5 separate regions of the Homo sapiens genome follow, and all the other regions are linked to region 3. Evidence: promoter capture Hi-C in 16 types of primary human blood cells and fetal thymus (Javierre and others, 2016). All regions are on one chromosome and are shown on one strand. The core of a region is centred on a gene start or on the middle of the fragment in contact, and the rest is flanking DNA. Distances in the headings are between cores, read along the strand shown.

Region 1 (2,700 bases), core at 201-2,700, 980 kb after region 3:
ACAGATCTTAAAACAGCTTTTATAAATACTATTCAACATGCTGAAAATTTAACAGAAAACGTGGCATTTTGAGAAGAGAGGTGGAAAAATATAAAAGAAAAGCAAAATTGTTAAAGATAAAACATACAATGGCCGAATTAAAAATTCACTGGACAGCCACCAGGTGGGAGGATTACTTGAGCCTAGGAGGTCAAGGCTGCAGTAAGCTGGGATCACACCACTGCACTCCAGCCTGGGCGACAGAGTAAGACTGTCTTCAAAAAAAAGGAATTCCTCCACACCTGCTCTTTTTACTACTTCCCCATCTCCGTAAATGATATCCTCGTTCACACAGCTAACTAAGTTTGAAACTTTAGAATCAACCCCCTACTCCTTTCGTATATCCTATCAATTATATCTCCCACAAATACACAAATATTCCCCATCTCTCCCATGTTCTCCATTCTCACTGCCCAGTACCTTGTCCTGACTACTGTCAATTCTTGCCTTTATTACTCAACAGCCTTCTGGGTGGTCTCATGGCAGAGTTTTCCTTGCTAATGTTAGGGCCTTGATATGGATGGGGTAGAATTGTGAGATCTGAGGTGAGAATACGTCAGTGGGTCCACCTAAGGCTTATCCTTGCATGATCACTTTCCTAGTCACTTCTCTCCTGCGCCCACTTCCACCTCCCCCAATTGTCTCCACACCTCTTCCTACTCTGGGAGGGAATGGTTTCCTCACCAAAAGAGTTGCAGGACCTGGGTAATAAGTACAAGCAGGAATCAGGACATGCTTGAAAGTTGATCTTGAGGAGGCTGGGAGGAGAGGGAGTACAGAATATAAGGTTGGACAGGCTAGGGCTTACTGACATGGGAGCACTCTCGTGATTTGGGATTTAACGTTCTGGCAAGAATGTTAAATTCTGAATGTGCCATTCTGGATGGCTTCTTGAAGTCTGAACGTGATGATGACCTTTAGCAAGTAGGGTTGATATGCTAAAACCATAGTTACCAGTACTAAGGGTAGGAATAGCAGTCTTTAGGGGCTGGGCATGGTGGCTTATGCCTGTAATCTCAGCACTTTTGGAAGCCAAGGCAGGCAGATCACCTGAGGTCAGGAGTTTGAGACCAGCATGACCAACATGGTGAAACTCCATCTCTACTAAAAATACAAAATTAGCCAAGCATGATGGCACATGCCTGTAATCCCAGCTACTTAGGAGGCTGAGGCAGAAGAATCGCTTGAACCTGGGAGGCTGAGTTTGCTATGAGCCAAAATCCCACCACTGCACTCTAGCGTGTGCGACAAGAGCAAAATTCCATCAAAAAAAAAAAAAAAGCAATCTTCATGAGGTGGGAAAGTTAGACTGGATTTATTACCTAAGATCACCACCAGATTATTATTTCTAGAAGGGACCAAAGGATATTGCCTCCACTAAGACAACAAAGAATGTCTAGAAAGGGGGACACCAACATCTTTAAGCTGTCCAGTGGTGGCTGACCTCTATAGGCCAGGGTTGACAGTAGAAGATGCTGCTATAGAATGGCATGAATAGAAATCTAGAATGGCCTAGGCCAGGGCCAGTGCTTAATAACCTTGTCAATGGCAAGGTGAAAGTAGTTGCTGCAATGGACAGCACAGCTGGAATAGAAATAAAGTCCAGGGATCTGTGGTTATGACTAATAGACTATTATGTTTCTAGGTAAGAGATAGATGGCTAACACACTTGAGTTTTGCTTGATTTCTATAACAAGAAAAACTCACGTATTGGCCCAGCAGAAAGCTGAAAGCAACTACAGTGCAAAATGAAGCAAGCATCCAGCACTTGGCCATATCATCTGGCAGATCTACAATGCTAGAGATACCCATGGCAAATTAAGGCCGACCGTCTGGCATGTCTCAATGAGAGATTCATTGCACAGGCTCCCTAGTATTCTGGAACAAGGTCATGTTTTCTCCACTAGAGAATGACTTATCATTTGAAAAGCAGCTCCTGTTGTGCTACTGGGCCAGCAGACACTGAGCACCTGACCTTGTAACATCAGGTGTATAACCAGAACAGTCCATCACTACCTGAATATTGCCAGATCTACCAAGTCATGGGTTCTAGCGGATGTGGCAGCAAACCATCCTAGGATGAGGCCCAAGCAGGTTGAAAACGCATAAATAACTTAACATAAATAGCAAGCCATAAGTCACCTACTCTGTTTCACAAAGGCTTTCTCTCTCAATACCCATCTATGGCCTTGTGGTGAGTTCCCCAAAAGTAGCCCACCCAAAAAACACCTGATTGTGGTTCACAGATAGGTTGGCTTCATATGTTGGTATGTCTTGAAAATAGGTGGCTGCTCCCTACAACACCACAACAGGGGACTTCAAAGGGCAGAGCTGTGAGCAGAACAGCAGATCATCTACTTCATATGGGGAAAAGGTGGTCCAAGGTTAGAATATATTGCTGGGCAAATAATTTGGCTGATAGGAACAACATTAAATTATTGTAGACATAGAGATTTAAAGAAGAGGATTGTAGATAGACCTTTTAGGAACGGAAAAAGATTGTGGGGGTCTTGCATCTTTTGTCAATACCCACTAGAGAGCATCCACCATAGGTAAGACAGGAAACAACCAGGTGGACAGGACAATTTTTCTGGTGGATTGTCCAGTGAGTGTCCTTCATTACCAAAGCGTTTGCACAACGGTCTCATCATCAGAGCAGCT
Region 2 (2,700 bases), core at 123-2,622, 900 kb after region 3:
GCAGTACATGTGCAGGTTTGTTACATGGGTATATCTCATAATGCTGAGGTTTGGGATATGATCTATCCCATCATCAAAGTAGTGAGCATAGTACCCAATAGTTTTTCAACTCTTGGTCCCCCCTTCCTCCTTCCCCCATCTAGTAGTCCTCAGTGTCTATTGTTCCCATCTTTATGTCCACATGTACCCAATATTTAGCTCCAACTTATAAGTGAGAACCTGTGGTATTTGGTTTCCTGAGTTAATTTGCTTAGGATAATGGCCTCCAGTTGTATCCATGTTGCTGCAAAGTACATGATTGAATTTTTATTTATGGCATCATAGTGTTCCATGGCGTATATGTAGCACATTTTCTTTATCCAGTCCACTATTGATGGGCACCTAGGTTGATTCCGTATCTTTCCTATTGTGAATAGTGCTGTGATGAACATAGGAGTGCATGTGTCTTTTTGGCAGAATGATTTATTTGCCTTTGGGTATATACCCAGTAATGGGATTGCTGGGTAGAATGGTAGTTCTATTGTATAAGTTCTTTGAGAAATCTCCAAATTGCTTTCCTGAGTGGCTGAATTAATTTGTATTCCCACCATCACTGTATAGGCATTCCCTTTTCACCACAACCTTGCCAGCATGTTAATTTCTGATGTTTTCATAATACCCATTCTGACTGGTGTGAGATGGTGTCTTATTGTGGTTTTGATTTGTATTTCTCTGATGATTAGTGATGTCGAGCAATTTTTCATGTTTGTTGGTCACTTGTATGTCTTCTTTTGAGAAGTGTCTGTTCATGCCCACTTTTTAATAAGGTTTCTTTGTTGAATTGCAAAAAAGACTCTTTGAAAGGATTTACCTCTACATAAATAATGCGTATGCATTCAGTTAGTAGACAACTTTTAGTTGGTAGACAACTTTTAGGAGTTAAAATGTATAGCTAGTCCCATTTTACATTTTTGAAATTAAATATAAGGTAACCCAAATCAGATGCAGACAGCCTAGATATCTTCATTGCCATTGCACATAGAAAGTGGAAAAGCTACTTAATATCATCTGAAAATCTATACTATCAGAATTATTCTGGAAAAGACTGCTTCCAGAGAAGCTACAGGACAAACAAGAGAATGGGTTTTGTATTTGCAAAGCTGAGGTCGAAACTCAACTCTGCTACTTCCTGGGCCAAATACGCTGAGCCTATTTTATCTTCTGTTTGATAAGGATAATCTTCATTTTGCAAGGTTGTGGGGAGACACACAATTATCATTAAGCAAGATCTCCCCAGGCCTATGAGTGAGAAGTTTGACCTCTGTCTCTTACCTCACAAAGGTGGAAGTTTCAGCACACATGAAAATACCTTGTAAAATGTAAGACTTTCCATCCAGTATTTTAAGTAGTTGAGCCAAAGCTAAAGTGAGTAGTAGCATTAGATACATAGCTGGGCTTGCAGGTAGGATGGCAGCTTCAGGTCCTCAGACTTTTCAAATGAGAATAGCCAGGCTCTTCTGAAGCACTCAAGGCTCTATTCTCTCCTCGGTCAGTGAGTTAGCATACAACCCCTTTCCCTTCAAAGAGAAGTCAGCTCACATGAACCGAAGCGGGAGAGCACATAACTCTCAACTACCAAGTGGTAGTTAATTTTAGGTACTTACTGTTCTCTTCAAAAATAATTGTATCCCCCTCCTTAACTACAGAAGAGAAATATGAAAAACATGCTAATGATCAGTGCAACTTCCGACTGTGGTGCAATAAACCTATGGCTTACAAGAACTCATCAGTTTATTTACTATTTAAATTTCTTTCACGACATACTGCCCATAGCCTGAAGGATTTTGGAAGAACTTGGAAATTCTAAAATAACAATTGGTGTTGAGCCATGCTAAGAGAAGTTAGAAACTTCTGCAGACTCAAACCAGTTGGAAAGTGGAAGAGGTCTCCCCTCCTTGAGTTACGGGCCCCCAGGAAGAAGTGCCCTGACTTCTTCCCAGGTGCAAACAAATCTGTGAAAATTTAGTAGTTCCAACAAAATAAATAAACTGGAATCAAATGAGAAAAATCACAAATAAATCTCAAAGAAGGCAAGTGAGAGGGTGAGGGGAGGAGTGTCTCAAGAAATAGAAATCAGGCTACATTTAAATTTTGGTTCTTATTTCTTTCTTACTGAAGATGCAGTCCCCTTAGACTGCCAGCAACTCCCAATAACACAAAGGTCCATTTCAGCTCTTATCCAATATTTACGGTAAAAGAATCATCTCAACCAAGCTCCTCATTGTACAGATGAGAATCTGATTCCCAGATCTCTGAACTTGATTCATTTTCCCATATGATTTGTCAGCGGGGGATCTTACTCATGACTCAACTGGCTTATAAGGTACTTGAAAGTTGGAATGGTAGCATGTTTACTTTCATCCCGTATGCAGCTCAGCTCATAGCAGAACAAGTACTGTCAGCTTGAGGAAAAGAATAATGTCCTGGCTGTCCACTTACAAGATTTTGAACAACTCTCTACAATTATAAAGATGATCGAGACCAGCCTGGCCAGCATGGTGAAACCCCATCTCTACTAAAAATACAAAAAAAACTGCCAGGCATGGTGGCACATGCCTGTAGTCCCAGCCACCTGGGAGGCTGAGGCAGGAGAATGGCTTGAAGCTAGGAAGCAGAGGTTGCAGCGAGCCGAGATCATGCCACTTCACTCCAGCCTGGACG
Region 3 (2,700 bases), core at 120-2,619:
TTCCAGAGCATTTCCTTGTTTATCTCCTTACCAAGCCTAAAACTCAACTAATCCTTCTTTCAAACAGCTGGCAAACTCCCTTTTCTGAGAGGAGTGACTCATAAGTTATAGGAAATCCACAAAAACTACGATTTTTTCCCCCAACAAACTTAATAACAGGCACAGAAGGGGCGGGGGGGGGGGGGGGCGGAAGGCCAGAAAGAGAACAGACAGAGAAGAGCATTCAGTCTGTTTACTCCAAGGGCGTCACACCGTGCCAATATCCAGAGCTTCCTAAAAGCAAATGTTCAAACTGCAGTTTCTGGACACACTGTCCTAGAAGTTGAACAGATCCTTCAAGCCCATGCACCAAGAAATTCTGAAAATAAATAACTAGGTACTGCAAACCTACTGCACTCCCATCACAGAAATCTTTCAAATTACAAATCCCCTAATTAGGCGCGGAAAAGAACACCGCACTCTTCCCTAAGAAAACCGACACCTCGTTGACCAAAGAGAAAGGAAAGCAAGTTCATCTCCAACATCCAAACCACAAAGCCAGGTTTCTACTAAATAAAGTCCTCAAATACACTCTAATCTGAGATGAGGTAAGGAAGGCTGTGTAATGGTTCTCCTTGCCTGTTGGGAGGGGCAAAGGTTGGCATTCTAGGACAGCAGCTACTCTGCCACATGGGCCTGGTCCTCGGTAATTCCAAGCGTCCCTTCTGCCTCTCCCTTCCCAGAGCAGATGCTTCACCAGCTCCAAAATCCGCCCGACGTTCTTGCCGCCTGGAGGCCCCCACGTTCCCCTCCAGGCTTGGCCTCCCACGCTCGCCCTCGTTCCTGCGACTCTCGGTCCCCGTCGACACCAAAGGAGGAGGCCGCCAAGGCATCCCCGCTGCAAGCCCGCTACCCGCCGACTCACCTGGTCCCCCCTACGTTCAGTTGGACGATCTCGCCGCTGCCGGCCGCCGCCGCGGGGAAGCTGCCGCAGTGCCCTCCCGCCATCTCCGGCGGCTCCGGACGCGCTCGCCGCCCTCCTTCCCCAGCCGGGACCGCCGAGCCCGGGGCTGTAGCCCGAGGCAGCGGCGACGGCTGCAGGGCCAGCGGGGCGGCGGCGGCCGGAGGGCGGGGGGTGCACGGGGCTTCCCCCACCTTCCCGGCGGCCGGGCGGGGCTCGCTAGCTTCTGCCCCTTCCCGGGTCAATCCTGCGGTGCACAAGGGCGGCCCGGCCTCCACCTTTCGCGGCCTCCAGGCCGCCGGGCCGCCCGGGCCTCTTCTCCGTGCTCCGCTGCCACCGACGCCGCCGCAGCCTGCCTGGGAGGAGGGGTCACCGTTCGGGACAAAATACCGCAGCGCTCACGCTTCGCCCGCCACTGCCGCCTAGAATGAGGAGGAGGAGGAGGAAGGAAAGGTCAGGGAGGAGCTTCCCAACGCCGCGGGGCTGGCGCGTAGGGAGGCTAGGGGAATGTGCTCCTGGCCAGCCGCCTGCCCACGCGGGATTCCATTTCGTTCCTCCTCCCCACGCGATCCCAGCCCCTTTCCCTTTTACATTTCAGATTTTCTAAAACGAGGAAGCTGATTCGCAGATTGAGGGCAGATCTGGGCAAACGATCTACGGATCTTTATGACCCACTTTGTCAACATGGATTGGGAAAGGAAAAACTAATCCTAGAGGTAGTAAAAGTTGATGCCTAAATGTAGACAGTGCAAATGCAGGGAACATTTGGAGATTTTAAAACCTTACAGCGTTTACCCCAGAAAACTGCTTACTTTACCCTCTTCAATTTAATCCCCAATCTCCCAAGCAGTTTTTTTGTTTTGTTTTTTGCTTTTGTTTGTTAAGCAGGAAGGAAACCAAAGGACAAAAACCCCTAGACTGTGTAATGCCCAGCAACCTATTTCTGGAATATAGTAAGCACTCAACTAATGTTAGACACACGCAGAAAACACACAATTTTATGCGCTTGTTTATTTATTTGTTTTTGCTTTAAACGGTATCTATTCAAACCCAAAACCTTAGTGGCTATTAAAATATTTTTTAAATCGGAATACTATAATACTTGATGCCCTGCTAACAAAGACTAACAAAGATAGTGCGTTATGTTTCAGAGGTCATTAGTTTGTGGTACTAAATTCTTAACATGAATTGTTTTGTCATAGTTGTATCATAATAATTCAAACTGATAATGTATCTGATGTTAAGTTTTTATTGTCATTGTCATAATTTTTACCAAAAAAATAAAAAATAGCCTCTGGCAAGCATACTAATGTTGTGATATGCTCTATCTAGATTCGACTTGAAAGATGTTAATAGTACATATGGATGTAAGATAAGTATTATTTCTCCCAGTTGATGATAAGCTTAATAATAGCTAATTTGTGTTTATCATATACCCGGTGGTTTAGATATTTTGTCATCTTTCTTCGTCACAACTAATGTTATAATTATTTTTAAAAAAGGAAATTTGGGAATGAAAATGATCAAAAAAACTTGCTCAAAATTACATAGGTAGCAAGTGGGATGGCAGGAATTTCAAGGCAAGCAGCTTGAATTCAAGGCCACTGTTCACCATCCTTACCACTGCATTGTACCTCATTATCTTCACTTTAGACAGGGAAGATGAGTAACAGTTCAGATTAAAGCAGCAGCAACTAGGAATCTAAACCAGGGTGTCCAATCTTTTGGCTTTCCTGGGCCACATTGGAAGATGAATTGTC
Region 4 (2,700 bases), core at 104-2,603, 950 kb after region 3:
GAAAGAAAGAAAGAAAGAAAGAAAGAAAGAAAGAAAGAAAGAAAGAAAGAAAGAAAGAAAGAGGAAGGAAGGAAAGAAGGAAGGAAGGAAAGAAAGAAACAAAGAAAGAAAGAAAGCCCTTAGCTCCATTTAGCTCCAAATTTAATCTGAGAAGAGGCAATGTATGAGCTAAAAATGACTTCTCAGCAAATCAAACCACCACATCTGAGCTTACAGTAGGAAACAGCAAGGTCCAATGGAAATGTTCCACTAGTATTTAAAAAGCACCGAGAAATAAGTAAAATTAATATTTAATTTAACTTGCTATTTTCAAGATACTCTCATTTCAACTTGTAATTAATAGGAAAGTTACTAATAAAATATTTTACATTTTTTCATACTAAATTTTCAGAATTTGGCATCCATCATACACTACAGCTCATCTCAATTTGCACCAGCCACATTTGAAGTACATCATAATTGCCACTTGTAGCCAGTGACTACCATATTGGACGTTGCAGGTCTACAGATTAGCAAAGATGTCACAAATCTGCTGATTCGAGGTGAATTTTGAAGAATCTTGCAAAACCAGTGTTTCTTTTCCACTTTAAATTCGTATCTTATTCTCTTTTCCCTATCCTTTCATTTTAAACAAAGTTATTTATTACTTAAACAAAAGTATACCCTGCTATTATTTTCATAAACCATTTTTTCTTCTTCCCCCTAAGAAGAAAAACACAAACACCATCATCAAAAAAGCACTACAAAGCTAAAAGCATCTTCTACTAGGTTGAACTATATGAGATTGCCAATCTCCACAGTTTTAACAAACATTCCAAACGGTTCAACCTCACTTGTTGGAGACCTTCCAGAAACCTAATCAGTGACAACTGATGGAAAAAATAAGTTTCTGCAATGCATTTGGAAGTTAGCAGTGTAAATTTTAAAACCATATTCAGTAGTTTTTGTAGTCTACTAGATAAGAAGAATATTTTAAAACCAAATGTGCTATAAGGATATGGCACGAACTCGGCTCACTGCAACTTCCACCTCCCAGGTTCAAGCGATTCTCCTGCCTCAGCCTCCTGAGTAGCTGAGATTAGAGGTGCCCGCCACTACACCTCGCTAATTTTTGTATTTTTAGTAGAGAGGGGGTTTCACCATGTTGGCCATGCTGGTCTCAAACTCCTGACCTCAGGTAATCCACTTGCCTCGGCCTCCTAAAGTGCTGGGATTACAGGCATGAGCCACCTAGCCCAGCCAAAAGGAAACATTTTTTAAATTATCACACAACCTTGCAGATTGGGCCTGCTTATATTCTGTCTCCAATCTCAACTGGGCCCTCCATGCTATTCCGTCCTTTTATAATTCCCTAGTTCTCCCTCTCATTCTCTACAGCAGCTTTTCCACCCAGAGAAAACACGAGCCATCAGTATGCTTCAACTAATTTCCATCTTTTCGGTAACAGCTGTCGATAGTTTTATTTTAACAAGTACTATCATACTATCAAATAATGCTATGTAACTAGTATTATCATACTATCAATTTGATAGTATGATAGTACTATTTATTATTGTATTACTCAGTGACCAATAGTGTCTGAATCATGGTACAGCTTAATAAACATATACTGAATGAATACATGAGTAATGCAGCAAACATTTGATAAATTTATATCGTACTGAGCTATGCAATGATAAAACCAAATCACTGTTTGTTTGTTTTTAATCTTCCACTCTTTCAAGTTACGGTACAGAGACCGAATCATTACTTATTCTACCAGGAAAAAAAATTGCAAAGTATAATAATTATATTGTTAAAGGAAAAGACAAACGCATCTGATTAATACATACAAATATCATCCCTATAAATACCATCCCAAAATATTACCTTTTAAGTTCCTGTTCCAGTTTTTCTATTTGTTTTTTGCCTGAATTCAGTTGTCCTTCCTGGAAATTCACTTGTGACTCCTTGACTTGAAGTTCATGAGAAATCTTCTGCTTAGTTTTCTCCAGACTTTCACATATTTCCATCAATCTTTGATTCTCCCTTTTCAGGTTTGTACCCTCGGTTTTTTCATTTTCAACCTAATGAGAATTGTTCAGAAGACAATAACTCCCTTATTTTGTGAATTTACCAAGTATTATTGGTAAACCTGAGTCTAACATTGACTACTAAATTCCTGAGATACAGCTGCAATAAGCCATATGAACACAGAAATTTTAGATGATCACACTTTGAAGCCAATAGATAGGAAACTTCTTTGAAGCCATGTAGTATATCATCTTTGGCCAGACACACCCATCCTAGAAAGGGAGTCTTTACTATCCTTTCAAAAATTAAAAAATAGGAAATAAATCCTATAAATCTCCCTTAACAATTCATTTTCAAGTTTGGCTGCTAAAACCAGTTATTGTTAGAAACCAGAAAATTCTCCCACAAGCAAAATCCTTTTAGAAGCAATGACTGTATCACTATTTAGTTGGCTAATAGAGAGGTAATTTTTAAAAAGTACTGTTTAGTTTTCATTTTCTAGACCTGAAAAGGTTGAGGAATACCAAGGTAAAAAGCCCAGTCTAAGAAAGCCACAACCATTTAACTGCAAAATGCTCTAATACTGTCCCCAGATTAGGAGCAGACACCTTTTGCCTTGTTGCTATGCAGTGCAAAAGCAATCTCCAATTCATGGTCCCACATGGAAGTTGAAATGGAACTCAATAG
Region 5 (2,700 bases), core at 94-2,593, 920 kb after region 3:
ATTCTTTCTCTTTATTCAGTTGTGCAATTTGGTTTTCCAGCTCACATTTTGTCAAAGACAGTGCCTGTGAGTCCTTTTCCAAACTCTGCAGCTTTTCCTGGAGATGAGTTTTGTCTTTTAACAGCTCACTCACATCAGAGGACAAAGTCTGAAGGAGTTCCGTCTTTTCCTTCACCTCTGCCTCTGCCACCTGAATGCAATGGAGACACTCACTTTGATGAGACTCAAGCTCTTGTGTTTTCTCCTTCATTTTTTCAGACAACTGATCCAGTGCCGTGGTTTTTTTTGACATAGTATCTAATTCTCCACGAAGCTGGTTTCTCTCACTTGTGACCACTGAGAGTTCTTCTTCAAGGCAGACAATAACCTTCTGCTTATTTTCATTGTCTTTTTCTAAACATAGCTTCTCTGTTTGAACTACCTCTAAGTCAGCCTCCAGGTAGAGGGCTTCATGCTCAATGCTAGCTTTCTCCGATCTGATCCTACTCAGCTCATTTTCCACATCAAGAAATCTCTCCTTCCAGCTGTCATTCACCTTGGCCACATTATCTCCAATATCTTCACGTGATGATTTATCTGCATGCATTTCTAAATCAGAATTGAGGCCTTCAGAAGTTTCTACTCTCTGGAGTAACTCCTGGTGATCACAAGAAAAATATTCCAATTTTTCACTTAAATCTGAGTTTTCTTTCTTAAGTTCCCCAACTATTTTTTCCAATTCTATGCATGCTTCAATTTTGGTCATTAGTTGTACCTCCTGTAAATGGAGTTTTGAGTCTAATTCTTTCATTTCATTTAGCAAACTTTCAACTTTTCTGTCACGGTCCTCTATCACATGAAGTAATCTCAAATTCTCATTTGATGTCTCTTTTACCCGCAGTTGAAGATTATGGATATCTTCCTGATTCCCCAGGAAATCCATAGGTACCAAAGCATTAGGACCAGAAAATGACAATTCAGAAATGCATTCTGAAGAGCCCTGGGTTTTATCTTCCCCTGGAGGCTCATAATTGGTATCTGGGGACTGTTCCCCAGAGCACTCTCCTGTGGGTTTCACTGCACCAGTCTCAGTTATTTTCTCAATGTCTAGATTGAGGTCCTGCTGAGCATCTTTATCACAAATCTGATGAACATCATGCTTTGGTGTTCTTTCTGTAGTTTCTGAAGTATGTTCTTTTGATATGTCACAGCTCTCATTTCGGCCTTGAATAGCCTGTAATTATAATACATAACAAGCATGCATTTTATTTTTCAAAAAGAATCAAAATAGAATAGATTTAGTTATTACTTTTTAGAAACTGATGCGTGGCCTCTGCTAAACACATCTCTTAAAGTGGTGAATTTCCCACTACATCTTTCTCTCTTCATTCAAATGTTCAACATACTTATACGTTCAGTAAGTGGCCCCTATGGGCAAGACACTGGGGTTAGGCATTTATCTTGAAGACAAACCCTTCGGCTCAATTACAATTTGTAATGTATTTAAATTTCATATTTTTCCCTTGCTAAGAATATTCAGGTAGCCTAAATATGAAATCTCTTTGTAATTATTAAATAAGAGGCTAACAAAATGCTCAGCTTCCACCTTCAGCATTTATGATACTCTTTAATAAGGCAGTAAAGTTTCATAACCAGATTCCCAGTCCAAGGACTTAATCCCCAATCCAGCACTTACTGTACATTATTGGATAAATTACATATTTGAGCCTCACTTTCCTCTCATCTGTAAACTGGGGATCTGCTGTTGCACCTACACCTGCCATCACCTCACCATGACCTGCCTTCTCTACCTCACAGAGATAGACAGAGGAAATCAAGTGACATGCATACACTATATAGCATTATTAATTAAGCTAGCAGGCTAGAAAGGACAAAGTTACAAGCAATTAAACAAATATGTATTCAATTTTTTAAAAGCCCTTTTAAATGACTTATACCAAATCATATTTTTGTACCACAGTAAATTGTTAGAGAGAAAACTGTTTAGTAATACATAAAGAATCTGCTGTATTTAGTTTCATGACGATAATGCCATAACATCAAAAATAGTCTGAAAAGTGGGAGAGATTAAAAATTTACATATTACCATTTGTAAGTTCTTAATTATTTCAGTATACTTTATTAATGCACAAAGGGTGGAAACACACATTCTAAAGACTTTCTGACTCCATAATATAATTTTCTCCAGACTTTAAAAACATCTTTAGTAATATTCTATATAATGCTATGTAAATCTAATCCCTATAGAAATTTATTCCTCAAATAACGTTTACTCATTTTCCTCAAGTTCTGGTTTGTTTTGAAAATATTTTGGTGTATTTTATTTCCTTGAACCCTAAAAATATTTTAACTTAGGTTTAATGTACATTTCAATTAGACAAACATTTACTGAGTGTCCACTAGTCATGTAAACCGAGAAATGGCATTTAAATCCCAGGTACTTACATCTTCTGTGTCGATGCCAAGCAAAGACCGAGAACTTAAGTCCAGACCTTGTAGCTGGAGTCGTGCTACTTCCAGCTCAAGTGACAGTTGTTCCGTCTGTTTCTTTTCTGCCGCCAACTTGGACTCCATCTCCAGAGTCACGCTTGTCAGCTTCTGTTGCCACTGTTCATTTTCTGACAAATACTGCTTCCTAAGGCAGTCAAGCTCTTGCCTTTCAGAACTTAATAACTGCTCGAGCTCTTGAATTTCCTTATT

The links. The method cuts DNA at HindIII sites, captures the fragments that hold promoters and counts their contacts. A CHiCAGO score of 5 or more calls a contact.
Region 1: a fragment that was not itself captured here is called in contact with the fragment with the promoter of KCTD3 in region 3 in 2 of 17 cell types (M0 macrophages and total CD4 T cells); the score reaches 5.7 in M0 macrophages.
Region 2: a contact is called between a fragment that was not itself captured here and the fragment with the promoter of KCTD3 in region 3, in 1 of 17 cell types (M2 macrophages). The highest score is 6.0, in M2 macrophages.
Region 4: a contact is called between a fragment that was not itself captured here and the fragment with the promoter of KCTD3 in region 3, in 5 of 17 cell types (M0 macrophages, M2 macrophages, erythroblasts and 2 more). The highest score is 9.2, in M0 macrophages.
Region 5: a contact is called between a fragment that was not itself captured here and the fragment with the promoter of KCTD3 in region 3, in 2 of 17 cell types (M0 macrophages and M2 macrophages). The highest score is 7.2, in M0 macrophages.

Annotation. Positions count from the first base shown.
Region 1 is chr1:214,588,367-214,591,066 of GRCh38, reverse strand. No RefSeq gene overlaps it. Among named protein-coding and RNA genes, the nearest start is that of CENPF, 13 kb to the left of the region's middle. The HindIII fragment of the contact is 8,063 bases long and covers 1-2,700 here.
Region 2 is chr1:214,665,445-214,668,144 of GRCh38, reverse strand. No RefSeq gene overlaps it. Among named protein-coding and RNA genes, the nearest start is that of CENPF, 64 kb to the right of the region's middle. The HindIII fragment of the contact is 5,458 bases long and covers 1-2,700 here.
Region 3 is chr1:215,565,973-215,568,672 of GRCh38, reverse strand. It overlaps KCTD3 (potassium channel tetramerization domain containing 3), which reads right to left and starts at 1,369. Exons shown (of 18, transcript NM_016121.5): 1 at 905-1,369. The coding sequence starts at 987. LOC124904599 (a long non-coding RNA gene) reads left to right here and starts at 1,316. Exons shown (of 2, transcript XR_922599.2): 1 at 1,316-1,393; 2 at 1,539-2,246. RefSeq lists an enhancer at 295-1,155 and a silencer at 968-1,237. The HindIII fragment of the contact is 6,743 bases long and covers 1-2,345 here.
Region 4 is chr1:214,614,198-214,616,897 of GRCh38, reverse strand. It overlaps CENPF (centromere protein F), which reads right to left. Exons shown (of 20, transcript NM_016343.4): 3 at 1,870-2,066. Among named protein-coding and RNA genes, the nearest start is that of CENPF, 12 kb to the right of the region's middle. RefSeq lists an enhancer at 880-2,079. The HindIII fragment of the contact is 6,674 bases long and covers 1-2,700 here.
Region 5 is chr1:214,643,070-214,645,769 of GRCh38, reverse strand. It overlaps CENPF (centromere protein F), which reads right to left. Exons shown (of 20, transcript NM_016343.4): 12 at 2,446-2,700; 13 at 1-1,213. Among named protein-coding and RNA genes, the nearest start is that of CENPF, 41 kb to the right of the region's middle. The HindIII fragment of the contact is 6,470 bases long and covers 1-2,700 here.